5 separate regions of the Homo sapiens genome follow, and all the other regions are linked to region 1. Evidence: promoter capture Hi-C in 16 types of primary human blood cells and fetal thymus (Javierre and others, 2016). All regions are on one chromosome and are shown on one strand. The core of a region is centred on a gene start or on the middle of the fragment in contact, and the rest is flanking DNA. Distances in the headings are between cores, read along the strand shown. Region 1 holds the start of PSMA4 (proteasome 20S subunit alpha 4). Region 2 overlaps DNAJA4 (DnaJ heat shock protein family (Hsp40) member A4). Region 3 holds the start of IDH3A (isocitrate dehydrogenase (NAD(+)) 3 catalytic subunit alpha). Region 4 overlaps TBC1D2B (TBC1 domain family member 2B). Region 5 overlaps CIB2 (calcium and integrin binding family member 2).

What was found. The method cuts DNA at HindIII sites, captures the fragments that hold promoters and counts their contacts. A CHiCAGO score of 5 or more calls a contact.
Region 2: a fragment that was not itself captured here is called in contact with the fragment with the promoter of PSMA4 in region 1 in 1 of 17 cell types (fetal thymus); the score reaches 5.2 in fetal thymus.
Region 3: a contact is called between a fragment that was not itself captured here and the fragment with the promoter of PSMA4 in region 1, in 9 of 17 cell types (fetal thymus, activated CD4 T cells, non-activated CD4 T cells and 6 more). The highest score is 13.5, in fetal thymus.
Region 4: a contact is called between a fragment that was not itself captured here and the fragment with the promoter of PSMA4 in region 1, in 1 of 17 cell types (activated CD4 T cells). The highest score is 5.1, in activated CD4 T cells.
Region 5: a contact is called between a fragment that was not itself captured here and the fragment with the promoter of PSMA4 in region 1, in 1 of 17 cell types (fetal thymus). The highest score is 5.9, in fetal thymus.

What each region holds. Positions count from the first base shown.
Region 1 is chr15:78,539,061-78,541,784 of GRCh38, reverse strand. PSMA4 (proteasome 20S subunit alpha 4) reads right to left here and starts at 1,341. Exons shown (of 9, transcript NM_002789.6): 1 at 1,246-1,341. RefSeq lists enhancers at 193-1,085, 1,194-1,303 and a silencer at 844-1,113. The HindIII fragment of the contact is 17,328 bases long and covers 1,216-2,724 here.
Region 2 is chr15:78,265,700-78,268,399 of GRCh38, reverse strand. The region is part of intron 1 of DNAJA4 (DnaJ heat shock protein family (Hsp40) member A4); the gene reads right to left. Among named protein-coding and RNA genes, the nearest start is that of DNAJA4, 2.5 kb to the right of the region's middle. The HindIII fragment of the contact is 1,398 bases long and covers 656-2,053 here.
Region 3 is chr15:78,146,877-78,149,647 of GRCh38, reverse strand. IDH3A (isocitrate dehydrogenase (NAD(+)) 3 catalytic subunit alpha) reads right to left here and starts at 286. Exons shown (of 11, transcript NM_005530.3): 1 at 218-286. The coding sequence starts at 244. It overlaps LOC124903534 (a long non-coding RNA gene), which reads left to right and starts at 429. Exons shown (of 2, transcript XR_007064725.1): 1 at 429-540; 2 at 1,916-2,771. RefSeq lists a silencer at 1-326. The HindIII fragment of the contact is 1,753 bases long and covers 503-2,255 here.
Region 4 is chr15:78,056,729-78,059,428 of GRCh38, reverse strand. The region is part of intron 1 of TBC1D2B (TBC1 domain family member 2B); the gene reads left to right. Among named protein-coding and RNA genes, the nearest start is that of TBC1D2B, 20 kb to the left of the region's middle. RefSeq lists an enhancer at 2,425-2,544. The HindIII fragment of the contact is 3,960 bases long and covers 1-2,700 here.
Region 5 is chr15:78,121,236-78,123,935 of GRCh38, reverse strand. It overlaps CIB2 (calcium and integrin binding family member 2), which reads left to right. Exons shown (of 6, transcript NM_006383.4): 2 at 197-231. Among named protein-coding and RNA genes, the nearest start is that of CIB2, 8.9 kb to the left of the region's middle. The HindIII fragment of the contact is 8,738 bases long and covers 1-2,700 here.

The DNA of each region.
Region 1 (2,724 bases), core at 92-2,591:
GATGCTGGAATACCAAAATGTGTAAAACCAGTTCCTGTCCTGAAAAGCTAATACTGGCAGTTAGGTGAGAGAGGCAGTCATAGATTATAATGTGGAAAGAGGAACCGGGGGTAGGGTGGGAAAAGGGATGATGAAAGAATCAAGAAAGTATTTTTTGAGAAATCGATACAGAAAATGAAAGTAAATCAGAGATGGGAGAGGCAGAAATAAGGCTGAGAACCCTTGGGTCTAAGAGAAAGAACAGGGGAAGAAAGAAGGGCATTCCACACAGAGCAGAAAGTATGAACAAAGGGTACGGAGGCAGGATAGTTTAGTGGGCATGAGATAAACTGCTGATGCTTTTAAAATATATATAAATAAGAGCTAAGCGAGTATCCAAATCACGCAGAGCCTTGAAAGCCAAGGCAAGAGGCTGAGGCCTTCTCCAGAGAGTGATCTGGGTCCTGAACTTGGGGGTGGAGGCAGTTATCTTGGGCACCATCAGTACCATTCGTGCAAAAGGCAATACTAGGTGTTCAGCGTTATTTGGTAAAGCCTCAGTCCAAGGCCCACATTTCCAAATACTGGAATATAGGGAATCAAGACTGGAAAGGTAAGCTGGAATCAAATCCTGGAGAGCCCGCGTGCCCAGGTAAAAACAGAATTTTATCTCTCAGCCAATGGGGCTCCTCTGAATGATTCCCAAGGCCCACAGGAACTGATTGGCATTTTAAATGATCACTCTGGCTGGTGAGAGACCGAGGGCAGCGAACTGGTTGAGGTAATTGCAATAGGAATGGTGCAAAGTAAGGATGGCACAGAGCAGAGAAGCAGGGAGGACACAGAGACACTCGCCGGGGATTTCTGATTCGAGCTTTAAGCACAACTTTCTGTTGTCTCCACGCCTGACGCCGGGCACAGCACTATTTTGAGTTCACCGGCACCTCCGGGAGAGCTAACTTTCACGTACCGAACTCCTGAGGACGGAAGCCACCCCAACTCTCGGTCCTGCCCACAGACCCCCACCCTCAGCCCGCCCCCTCGCGGGCCCCGGCGTCCAGGCTTGGCACTGGGAAGCCCCCGACGGCGGCCGGCGGGGGCCATTCCCGGCGGTCGGTCCGTCACAGAGGAGGCGGTGCAGAGTCATCGTGCCCACGGCTCCTCGGCGGCAACTGCAGGCCGGGACCGACTGTCTTGACGTTCACGACCCCCGCCCAATGGGAAAGCGGCCAAGCTTCCGCGGGCCCCAAGGGGCCAAAGGCTCACCAGATGGAAGACCCTGAAGACCTGAGATGTCCACGGAGCCCTTAACTCCACGGAAGAATAAACCACCACCGCTCACCGAATAACCGCTGCTAATATGGCCCCCGCGCATGCGCAGAACCGCTGGGTTGGGGCGGGGGGAGCGGGACGGCCGAGGACGCGGAAGTCCTTCTTGCGGGGCGGAGCTAGAACCCGTGCCCCTCGTGGGAGCTGGGTCGCGGGGGTGCTGAGGCTCTGGGGCGCTGCAGCTTAGGCTAGGGTCCTCAGCAGGTGGAGGAGTTGCTGTGCCATGGGGAAGAGGGCAGGAAGACAGTAGCCAACCAGGAGGTGGAATAGCTAATTTCTTTCTCTTACCCTTGGCGCTCTCCTTTCATTTTCTCTTCACTATTCAGACCTAGGATAGCAAATAGTGTGGACCGGCTTCTTAATTGCTATCATTCCTGTCCTGTTTCCCAAAATGGTTCCAACCACATGAGACTTTACCCCTCTCATCACCTTCCTTTTTCATTCTGGCTTTCACTTTTACTGCTGATGCATACATTTTGGACATACACATTATGATGAGGAAGGCCGGGTGGCTCATGCCTGTAATCCCAGCACCTTGGGAGGTCGAGGCGGGTGGATCACCTGAGGTCGGGAGTTCGAGACCAGCTTGGCCAACATGGTGAAACCGTCTCTACTAAAATTAACAAAAATTAGCCGGGTGTGTGGTGCACGCCTGTAATCCCAGCTACTTGGGAGGCTGAGGCACGAGAATCGCTTGAACTCGGGAGGCGGAGGTTGCAGTGAGCCGAGAGTGCGCCACTTCACTCCAGCCTGAGACTCCATCTCAAAAAAAAAAAAATTATGATGAGGGTCGAGCATGGTGACTCATGCTTGTAATTACACCGCTTTGGGAGGCTGAGGCAGGAGGATGGCTTGAGGCTAGGAGTTTGGAGGCTGCAGTGAGCTATGATCGCACCACTGCACTCCAGCCTGGGTGACAGAGAAAGACACTGGCTCTAAAAATTAAATTAAAAAAAATTATGATCAGGTTCACACTTTTGGGGGAATTTTCACCTTGGTCTCTTTCTCTGCTTTTCACCAGTCAGAAAGGATTTCCCTGACCAGCACAGTTAAAGCAATACCCTACCGTCAGCATATACTCGCACCATTTTATCTTCTTTACTGAAATTGTCATACTTGTTTCTGTGTTCATTATCCATCTCTCCACCTTTTTGCTCATTCAGCCTCGGTCCGTATGTAAACTATCTACTATGCATTTTAGGTTTTTTCAGGCTAGAAGGTTGACTAGATCTGGGTTAATATGAAGTCATCTGCTCACAGTCTCTCCCAAAAAGCAGCCCACTGGGCAGAAACTCCTCTTCATGTTGGTTGCAAAATTATTGGGGGATCTGGGCTTTGAAAAGGAGATAGCTTGGAAGTAAGTTACATTTTGAGGTCTCGCCTATCGTCTCTACTTTCCAAGCACACAGGGAAGTG
Region 2 (2,700 bases), core at 105-2,604, 270 kb after region 1:
TATATAAGGCAGCTAGATCTTTTGATATGTTAATTCTCATACCATTTCTGCGAAGAAGTAAGTACCATTCACTACTATCCCTTTCCTCAGCAGAAAACATGAGGTAGAGTGTAAGGATTGGGTGCCTGGTACAGATCAGAAAGCAACTAGGCCAGGCTGCCCCTAGACAGTTTCTGCGTCTATCTGCAGGTCAGGACTAGGTAAATAACTTCATGGGAACGTCCACCGGAAACACTCACCAAATACCCTGGATACTCACATGTCATTTAGACTTAATAGAATGATCTAAGAATGGAAAAGGAGTACCCAGTTGCTTGGGACATTCAGTCAGAGGCCAGATCTCACATGGGATGGGGGTTCCAACTACCAGTAGGGAGTCCATCCTCTAGGGTCCCAGCACTCCAAAGTCTAATTCAGCTCCCGGCCCGGACCCCCTTCTCCCAGTGGGAGACGAGTGCTATGATGAGCTTGCCTTTCAGACCATGATCATTTGCCACAGAACCTTAACAGGATTACTATACAGCTGAGGGGAAAATGGCTTTGAAGACTACGTAACAACTTGGGAAAAGTACTTATAATAAAATATTAAGTGGAAACAAGAAAACAAAATGTCTATGTATCAGGATGGCCATGTATGATCATACTGGGGAAAGCTTGGAAAGAAGCACAGAGTGGTTAGGATAATGTGTACTTGGTAGGTTTCCCTCTGTGTTCTAAAATTTTCTGCATGGTTTGCTATGTTCTGATTTTTGAACTTGAAAGTCTATTATTCAAACTAAAAGTTACAATGAAATTGACCAAAAGACCAAACTCATCTCAACAGGGTAATAGCCAAGAATATACCCCACATCATTGCCCCTAAAAGGGACTATCTTGGTGACCCACTACCTACCACCCATGCATCTTGCAAAAAAAACAAAAAACAAAAAAAAAACACCCGCAGAGAAGTACAGACTCCATACAGAGTGCCCAAAAAACACAAGGTGCCCCAATGCTTAGCAACAGGGGACAACAGGGCAAAAAACAAAGACCAACATTTCAACGGCCTTCTCAGTTTTCCCAGCAAGGGGTAAAGAACTGGTGTAGTCTATTTTTGAAGAGACGTTAATAATACAGTGACGAACTTAGGAGGAAAAAAAAATTTAAAGGTTCTACCTGTGATAAAGTGGAAAAGAACTACACACACATACACACTCACATACACACTCACACACACACTCACACACTCACACACTCACATACACACTCACACACACACTCACATACACACTCACAAAAGGCCTGCACAGTGCACCCAGCACACAGTGGGGACCAGAAGAGGAGGTATTTGTTGAATGAATGAATGAATGAATGAATGAGCTCTCTCTGGGGAACTCTACAGCCGTTTCTATAAATTGTGTCCCCAGTCTCCTCATCCTCTTTGATTTCCGATCTAAATTGCCACTCTCCTCCCAATATCCCTTTCACTGCAATTTCCCTTCCAATTTGTGCCTTTATAGGGCCCTCTCCTCCTACACACAATTTTTTAAAGTGCATTTACTCAGCCAGCTAACAAACATTTTAGCACCTACCCTGCACAGCTAGATACTCACCCCATAAGTGGCCATGGGGGCACAGTCACTGCCCTGCTTACATTATGGCAGGTAATACAGTTATCAAACAAGTAATCACCATTAAAGGAATACAGTTAATCAAACAAGTAATCACCATTAAAGTAGGATGCACGTTGGGCCTGTGGTTCAGTCTATGAGGCAGAGGCAGCCTCCTGGAAGATGTTTTAGCTGAGAACTAAAGAGTTTTATCCCCTTCCATGAAGGTAGAGGAAGGAAAGTATTCCTGGCAATGGGCACATCACAGAACCCTTCCCTCCAAGCTGATGGGCCTGCCAGACCTCACTGCCAAGGGCCTCATTTATGTGACACTAACTCAGTGCCTGGCTATGAATAAATATTAGTTTAAAACAAACCAAACAACCTGCCCAGACAGGTATAGACAGGGTGAAACCTACACATATGTAGTACAGGTCAAGTCTAATTTTTTAAAAATAAAAGCTTCAGAACAAAAGCATATTCAGCTCTAACTGTATACACAGAGGCATGAACTTACTCTTGTGAGTGCTGAGATTTGACCTGAATCCAGGGTCAGGCTTTCCCACATGTCTTTAGCCAGCTTGCTGAAATGTGAAATTAGAAGCCTACAAGCTCTCCTTAAAGGAGACTGTCAGAAGCGGACCACAATGAATGTAGGGAGCAGGTGGATGAATCACCAGCACCATGTAAAACGCCAGTGCCTTTAAAAGCTACAGTAAGCCATCTAAATATAGATGAGAAAGAACGCAAGTGAGTAACAGACAAATGGTCTTACAGGAAAGCATTTTAAACTTGTGACAGCCACATTCAGCACATGTGGCTAAATATAAATATTCCATCACTGTTGCCATTCAGCCAACCGTCCTGAAGTAGCTTTCTCCAGCTTGGAACAACTAACACAGACAGGTATTTTGATTCCAGCGTCGTTTCCACAGGTCTTAAATGCTACATGGGTGATTGGTGTGGTTTCAAACGTGGCCCAAGTGACACTGCTATCAGCTACTATAACGGCCCCACCTCTCAAGACCCATGCGGAACAACCAAAGTTTTGTAAGAAAATGGCAAGAAGTGAAAGGAGGAACGGGAGGGTTAGCAGCCTTTCCTTGCAATG
Region 3 (2,771 bases), core at 130-2,629, 390 kb after region 1:
TCTGCGCTGCTGACCCGGCCCGGGGCGGCCCATACACTGCGAGCCGGCCACGGAGCGCGGGGCACGGGCGACCAGGACCGGCTCCCAAGCTGTCCCCGCGGGCAGCCACCGCCTCCCTGTCTGGCCCACGCGCCCGCCCACACCCGGCACGCGACCGGCTCTCCTGCCAGCCCTCGCGGCCTGCCTGCCTGCCACACGCCGGCCTGCCAGCGCTCACCTTAGAGATCCACGCGGGCCCAGCCATCGCTTCCCCTCCTGGCTCCGCAGCAACAGCCGCAGCGGCAGTGCGCAAGCGCCCACCCCACGCTCGGAGCCCGCCCCTGCACGGCCACGCCCCCTGAACGCCCCGCCCCCTAGACCGCCTCAGGATTGCTTCGCGCTCGCTCGCTGCCCCGCCCCTGGACATTCCGCTGGCGAATCGCCGGGCTCGTCTCTCTGTGACTGGCCTGGCTGAGCGCCAGGCGAACCCGGAAACTGAGGGGCCGGCATCTCCGGGAAAGCTTCTTCCTCCCCTCCCTGGTTCATTGACTCGCTGTTAAGGTAAGACGTTTGTTCCACACCTACTAGGTGCTGATTAATGTTCTAGGATCTTGGGGATATAGCGCTCCTCATAGAATTTACAATCCCGTGGAGAAAGACACATAATTTTCTTATTCCACAAATTTTGATTTTTTTTTTTTTTTTGAGACCGGGTCTCACTCTGTCGCCCAGGCTGGAGTGCAGTAGCGCGAACAGGTTCACTACAAAGCCTCGACCTCCTGGGATCAAGTAATTACTAAGCCCAGCCCAACTTTGTTTTTTCTTTTCTTTTTCTTTTTTTTTTTTTTTTTTTTTCTCCGTAGAGATGGGGCCTCGCTATGTTGCTCAGGCTGGTCTGGAACTCCAGAGTTCAAGCGATCTGCTTGCCCCAGGCTCACAAAGTGAGCCACTGCGACTGGCCGAATTTTATTTTTTACCAGCTTTATTGAGGTATAATGTATATATAGTAACATTTACTCACTGTAAGTGTACAGTTTGATGATTTTTAGTAAATGTAAACAGTTGCACAACCATCACCACAATCCAGTTTTTGAGCATATGAAAATGTTCCTTGTGTCCGTTTATAGTCAATCCCGCTCCTGTCCTCAATCCCAGGCAACTACTAATCTGTCTATTTAGCTCAACAAATATTTCTGAGGGTCAACTAGACACCAGGCACTGTTTTAAGTGCTGGGGCTTAGTGTCCAGTAGGAAAGACAGGCTTCAATCAAGTGTCACACACATGTCATTAAAACTGTTGCGCCAAGAAGCAAAAGAGCAAGGAGCTATGGCAAGGCAAAATCAGGCAACCTGATTCAAACCTAACCTGGAGGTCAGGGAATGCTTCTCTGAAGAAATAACATCCATACTCACCTTTCCCCTTGTCCTCTCCCTGTCCATCACAAACTCCTGAGTTCCTGCTGATGGCCAGGCCTCTAGCTGGGTGCCAGGGGAGGTCAGGTGTTTAAACCAGGTCTCTGCTACCCTACCCTGGGAAGAGTTCTATCCAGAGAGGAGCTGCCTACCCACCCAGAGAGGTGATGAGTGCAGTAGAGAAGTGATCCCAAGAGCTTTTATGACCTAAATAATAAACTGCAGCTAAGTCTGTGGCCTTGTCAGGAAGGAGGGCTTTTATCAACCCCTTTCCATTGGGCCCCTTCCCCTCATCAGGCCCTGGCAGTCCCATCCTGAAGTGTTCTCCCACAGTTCCTCCATCCCCAATGTCACCCCTGCCCTCCTTCGGGCCAGACCACCTCAGGCCCAGGCTCTTACAACAGCCTCTTCACCTGCCAACCTGCCCTCCCCTTCAGGCACAGCTCTGACCAGGGCTCGCCCCGGCTCTGAAACCTCCTGGCTCTCCCTTGCACTCTCCTCTCACACCACTGTCTTTTTTCAGCCTGATTTCCCACCACTCCTTCCAGCCCCAAAGACCTGGAGCGCCTGCCAACTAGGACTGCTGGCCAGCCCCCAAATGCTTCCCATATTTTACCTCTCCGTGCCTATGGTCGTGCCATTCCCTCAGCCTCAATGCCCTCTTGCCCCACTTCTACTGGCTGAAATTCTAGCTCCTTGTCAAGACTCAGCTTACATGTTGGGAAGTAGTAAAAGTTGTAAAAGCCCCCAAGACCCACGAATGTGTCCCCCTCTCCTTACTCAGAGCCCTCTAGCACTTGGCTCCCACCTCTCCTGGGAAACATCACATTCTCTTCTGCTGTGTGCCATTGAGAAGATAAGCTTTGGGCCAGGCGTGGTGACTCACGCCTGTAATCCCAACACTTTGGGTGGCCGACGCAGGTGGATCACTTGAAGTCAGGAGTTGGAGACCAGCCTGGCCAACATGGCAAAACCCTGTCTCTACTAAAAATACAAAAATTAGTTGGGCGTGTTGGCACATGCCTATAATCCCAGTGACTCAGGAGACTGAGGCATCAGAATCGCTTGAACCCACGAGGCAGAGGTTGCAGTGAGCCGAGATCATGCCACTGCACTCCAGTCTGGGTGACAGAGCGAGACTCTGTCTCAAAAGAGATAGAGAGAAGATATGCCTTAAGTCCAGAGATAATCTTGATGATCTCTTATGACGTTGTTTCTGGAACAGAGACTGGTACACAAGGAATACTTGCTGCTCAGTGATTGTGAAATAAACATTGACTGACTTTGTCCAGTCTTCATTTAATCTTCACAACAACCCTATGAGAAAACTGAAGTACAGCTAGTAAGTGATGATGCTGGCATTCACACTAGGAAGCTTC
Region 4 (2,700 bases), core at 182-2,681, 480 kb after region 1:
TTCCAAGATGTTCAGCTTGGTCTCATATTGGGATTGGTGCCATATTTGACCTGGGATTTCAGCAGTATTGAGGAAGTAGCAACAATTGAACATGAGAGGATGAGTCAGATATTTGAGTGTTTATATTCAGGACACTGTGCAAGACATCTTGGATCGTATTGAGACCAGCAGGTCTGGTCTCTGCCTTTAAGGAACTTGGGTTAGTGAGGAACACACAGGGAGTGCCCTCACCTCCATGGGAGGGTTACCTGGGCTACAAGATTCTCTGAGCTCCCTATTCAGAGAATGGAGACAAAATGTACACCCAGATCAGGGAAACCTGCTCTGAAGAGGTGGCCTTTGCATTGGATCTTGAAGGGTGAGTAGGAAGGAGCTGAGGAGACTGGTGTTAGGGGAGACAAAATGCACACCCAGGTCAGGGAAACCTGCTCTGAAGAGGTGGCCTTTGCATTGGACCTTGAAGGGTGAGGAGGAAGGAGCTGGAGAGACGGGTGTTAGGGGAGACTCAGGAGCTGGCCTAGGTAAGGCATCAGACAGCACACACCAGCACCTGGCTTCTTGCTGGGTGCTTGCCTGGCATCGGCTCCCAATTCTCTGCTGATCTGTGGAGCTCTGCCTTGTCACTGTTTCTTCTAGCATGAGTGGAATGCCTGTCTGGCTCTCCAGAACTTGGGACCACAGCATTTTGGTCATTCTGAGGGGTGGGGGGCAGATGGTGATCCTTCCCGGTCCTCACTCCTCCGGCGGGCGTGTCTTTGGTGAATGCTGTGTGGTCCTGGCCGTTAGCTTCTGCGCTGACTGGCTCATTGTCACCAGCTGAGCTGAGGCTCAGCGGAGGGAACTCCTGGTGATAGACCTAGCAAGGCGTTGTCTGTGCAGCCAGATCACTCAAAGGTCCTACTCGCCCCACTTTTGGAGCACTGAATAAAGGCACTATAGCTGGGGCCAGACCAGCAGATGCCTGGGTTCCTAAAGAATGTTGGCCTCTCCTTGGACATTAATGGACCATGGGGTGGTTGGAGATATGGAGGCGCCTGTTTAAAGAGAGAAGTTATCTTGAGTTGTAAAGTGCTGTAGAAGGGCAATGGTGTTGGCTGCCCCACACCCCCGTGGACCCCATGCCCTTGGCTTATGTTATAATCCTGAGGTACTGTTTCCTGCCAAGCCAGATCTCCCACCAACCTTGGCTCTCAAAATGGAATATATTTGCCATTGTAGTGTAGACCAGCACTGTTCAGTAAAGATAAGATGTGAGCCACATAATATACTTTTAAATTTTCAATGAGCCACATTAAACCAGTAAAATTAATTTTAATACTATCGTATTTATTCAGTGTATCCAAAAGATTTTATGTGGCACTGGCCATCTCTCATGTGCTCAGTAGTCACGTCTGGCTAGGGCTACTGTGTTGGTACAGGGCAGATCTGAACCAATTTCCTGGGACTGGGGCGATAAAGAGGCTGGTTTGTGATTATACATTTAATTAGGCCTGAGCCGAATCTCCATTTAGTCCTTTGCTAAAAGATACCAGATAAAAAACGCAGAGGCTTTTTGGATTTCTGCTGATTTTGCTGTGTTGTACTTTTAGTGGTGCTCAGTCTTAGAACCTGTGTGTGTTTCTGTCTTTGGGTTTCAGCTGTCTTCAGAAAAGGCCCTTTGGGGCTTTTCTGTCAAAGCACATGCCCCAGAGCCATTTCAGACAGTCTGGCCCCCAGCCTTTTACTAGCTAATTGGGGATTGAAGTCAAAAGTCTTCTAGTGATCTCTAGATTTTTTTTTTTCTTTGAGACAGAGTCTCACTGTCGCCCAGGCTGGAGTGCAGTGGCACCGTGTCGGCTCACTGCAACCTCCGTTTCCTGGGTTCAAGCAGTTCTCCTGCCTCAGCCTCCCAAGTAGCTGGGATTACGGGCACCCACCACCACGCCTGGCTAATTTTTAAAAATACTTTTAGTAGAGACGGGGTTTCACCATGTTGGCTAGGCTGGTCTCGAACTCCTGACCTCAGGTGATCCGCCTGCCTCGGCCTCCCAAAGTGCTGAGATTACAGGTGTGAGCCGCCATAGCAGCCTGTTTAGGTTTTTTTTTTGAAAGGAAACAAACCCAGTTAATCAGTGTCTTGATTAACTGACTTGTTAACCAGATTTTGCCCATCTTATTGACCAAATTTCTACAATATGATAAAATATCAGTCATTGAAAGCATGTGATCTAAAAGTTTTGCCTCAGGAATTTAGTGAGAGATGACTCAGAGGTTACTGATTGTTTCCCAGTTACATTTAATACTCAAAGATTTAAAGTGAAAAGGATTTCTTGTAAAAAGCAGATTTTTCATGGTGCCTGCATTGTCAGAGGCAGCTGGAGAGGTTGGTTCAGATATGCCCTAGTGAGTATGTGCCAGCTTCTCTAGCAGCCTGTGGCTCCCGAGCATAAATAGAAACACAGCTGCATATGCAGGCTGAACAAGAGGAAGTGTCTGGGCACCTCCCTGGCTGGAGCAGAAGGCTCCCAGGGTGCTTAGCTCACCTGTGGCATGGGGATGGAGGGGCCAGGTAGTCAGGGAGCTGGTGGGAGGACCACACACGCACATTCCCCCACCCAAACACACACTTGCCTCTAAGGGTTGGGGGTTTGGCAGACTGGGCTCACAGTATTGACTCCCTGTATGACCTAGACAAGTCACTTCCCTTTCTGGGCCTCTGTC
Region 5 (2,700 bases), core at 147-2,646, 420 kb after region 1:
GGTTTTGGGAGGCATTTTCTATACCTACTAGAGCCAGCTGTCCCCAGTGGGTGAGGGCAAGGTGGAAAGGGATAGTAGTGACTCTTCTGTCCCCAGTCCGGAGCTATCCCCTGTGAGCCCTGTGGCATCGAGGCCTCTGAGGAAGAAAGTCTGGGAGCCGCACACTGACTGTGTGTTGTGTGTTTTCCCTCAACAGGACTGCACCTTCTTCAATAAGAAGGACATCCTCAAGTAAGTGTGGCTTCTCGTTCACCCTGTTGGGACTGGGACTGGGGCCGGGGTGAGGCTGGGGCACCCCACATGGGCTGGCTGTGCTCCTGGGGCTGAGGCAGAGCATCAGCATGTATCAGGAGCCACATTCAGGTCCCCACTCGGCCACTGGGCTAGGATGGAGTTAGAGCTTCCCACTCCTCCCAGGGCCCAGATCCTCCTGCTGGGGAATGAACATCTACTTACTATGAGCTTTCAGGTGGGTAGTTTCCGGCACATTCTTATTTAATCCTCATTGTGACCTTGTAACAAGAGAATCCATTTATCCCCATTTGACAGATGGAGCTTAGCAACTTGGCTAAAGTCACAGAGCCAGGGACTCAAGACCCAGCCTCTGACTCCAGGTCCCTTGCTATTTCACTGCATCCTGGGTCCTGGTATAGCAGGGAGTCCCTGTCTGTTAGACCAGGGGTCCCTAAGGGCCCTTTGGCTCTAGCTTTGATGTTCTTCCACTCCTAGGACGTCTAAAAGTTGAGGGCATGGCCACCACCCCTGAGCTATTCATCAGGGCTCTGCTTCTTCCCAGGACAGCCCTTCTCCTTGGTGTTGATGGGGGTGGGGGTGGACCTGGATGGGAAAGATAAAGGGGATCGGCAGCCTCAGAACCCCAGGACCAGTGGGTGAGCAGGAATCACTGAATACCAAGAAAACTGCCCCACGGGCCTCACTAGGCCCCTCTGCCTGGGTGGCACTAAAAGCCAGCAAAGTCCCAGGATCACTTGCCCTGGAGATCGATGGTCAGGCTGGGACCAGAGCCCATTGCAGCTTCCCAAGAGAGCTGTGCTGCAGCTTGTCACTGCCCTAACCATTCTGCTCATTCAGGCAGTGCCTCTCGGCTTTCCTCTCTACCCAGGCTGCTATTCCAACCTGTCACCTGCATGGGCAGGGGATACCCCACTTCCACCACCTTAGAGAGTCTGAGCAAGGGGCAAAGCCTCCAGGCCTGGCATCAGTAGACCTGGCATCTGTGGCCTTGGGCAACCATTTGACCTTCCCTGAGCCTCAGTTTTCTTCTGTATAATAGGGATAGTGAAACCTACCCTCATAGCATTGCCGAGAGGCAGCAACACTGGGGTATAGTGTTTGATAAGTGGGATTTGCCCTGTAGCTTGAGAGATGTCAGGGGTGAGGTCCCCATTTCGACAGGATGGCTCTCGGTATTGGAATAACAAAGCTGTCACCCCTGGCATTCTTGTGGCACCTTTTACCTTTCAGAGTTCTTGGCATGGAGCCTCATTTGAGCCTCACAGGGAGCTTCGGGTTCCCTACCTTTGTAGATGCCAAGCCCAAGCTGCCTGTCTTCTGAGGCCCACGGCCATTTTCATTCTGGCAACAAAAGCCCCTTGCCTCGGCCTTTGCACTGGCTATCTCCACTCCCTGGAGTGTCCTTCGCCTCTCCTCTGCCCACAGCATTGCTATGCATCCTTCCAGACCCAACTCCAGAATCATCTCCTTTATAAGCACCCCCAACACCCTGCCACCCTAGTGCTATCCCAGCTGCTCTAACAGCCTGTTAGGGGCTCCTTGGGTTCCTGGACCCAGGGGCCCAGCTCCCCACCAGACTTGTGATCAGGCAGGACTAACAGGGAGCATGGCACCTGTTAGCCACCAGTGACCATATGAAGAGTGTGTGGGTGAAAGACAGGTAGGATTGGCTGAGGGAGAACATTCCAGGCTGGGGAGCAGCAGAGGTGAGACACAGGCCAGCTTCTCCTGCTCCCACTCCCACCCCCATCCTCCCGTGGTCTCATTGACAGCAGCAAGATTGCCTGTGTGGGGAAGAGGAGAGAGGAGCTTGAAGGCCAGTCCGGGAATCCGATCCAATATGATGGGCCTTTGGTGGTTGTTTTAGTCCATTCTCATGCTGCTATAAAGAACTGCCTGAGACTGGGTAATTTATAAAGGAAAGAGGTTTAATTGATTCATGGCTCCACATGGCTGGGGAGGCCTCAGGAAACTTACAATCATGGCAGAAGGGGAGGCAAACACATCCTTCCTCACATGGCGGCAGGAAAGAGAAGTGCTGGGCAAAGGGGGAGAAGCCCCTTATAAAACCATCAGATCTCGTGAGAACTCACTATCATGAGAACAGCCTCGGGGTAACTGCCCCCATGATTCAATTACCTCCCACCAGGTCCCTCCCATGACACGTAGGGATTATGGGAACTACAATTCAAGATGAGATTTGGGTAGGGACACAGCCAAACCATATCAGGGGTATCCCTGGCCCCTTGGAAAATGAGGGGCTCCAGGCAGGTGAGAGGGCTTGAGGAGAGGCGTCCTGGCTCCCCACAGCCCTGGCCTGCACCCCTCTGCACGCATCAGGACCCTAGGCTCTGTAATTCAACACCAGAGCAAAACCCAAGCCTGAGGCCCCGTCTGCAGCATGGGGATGACATTGCTTGCAGGAGCTGTTTTCTCACAGGCCCC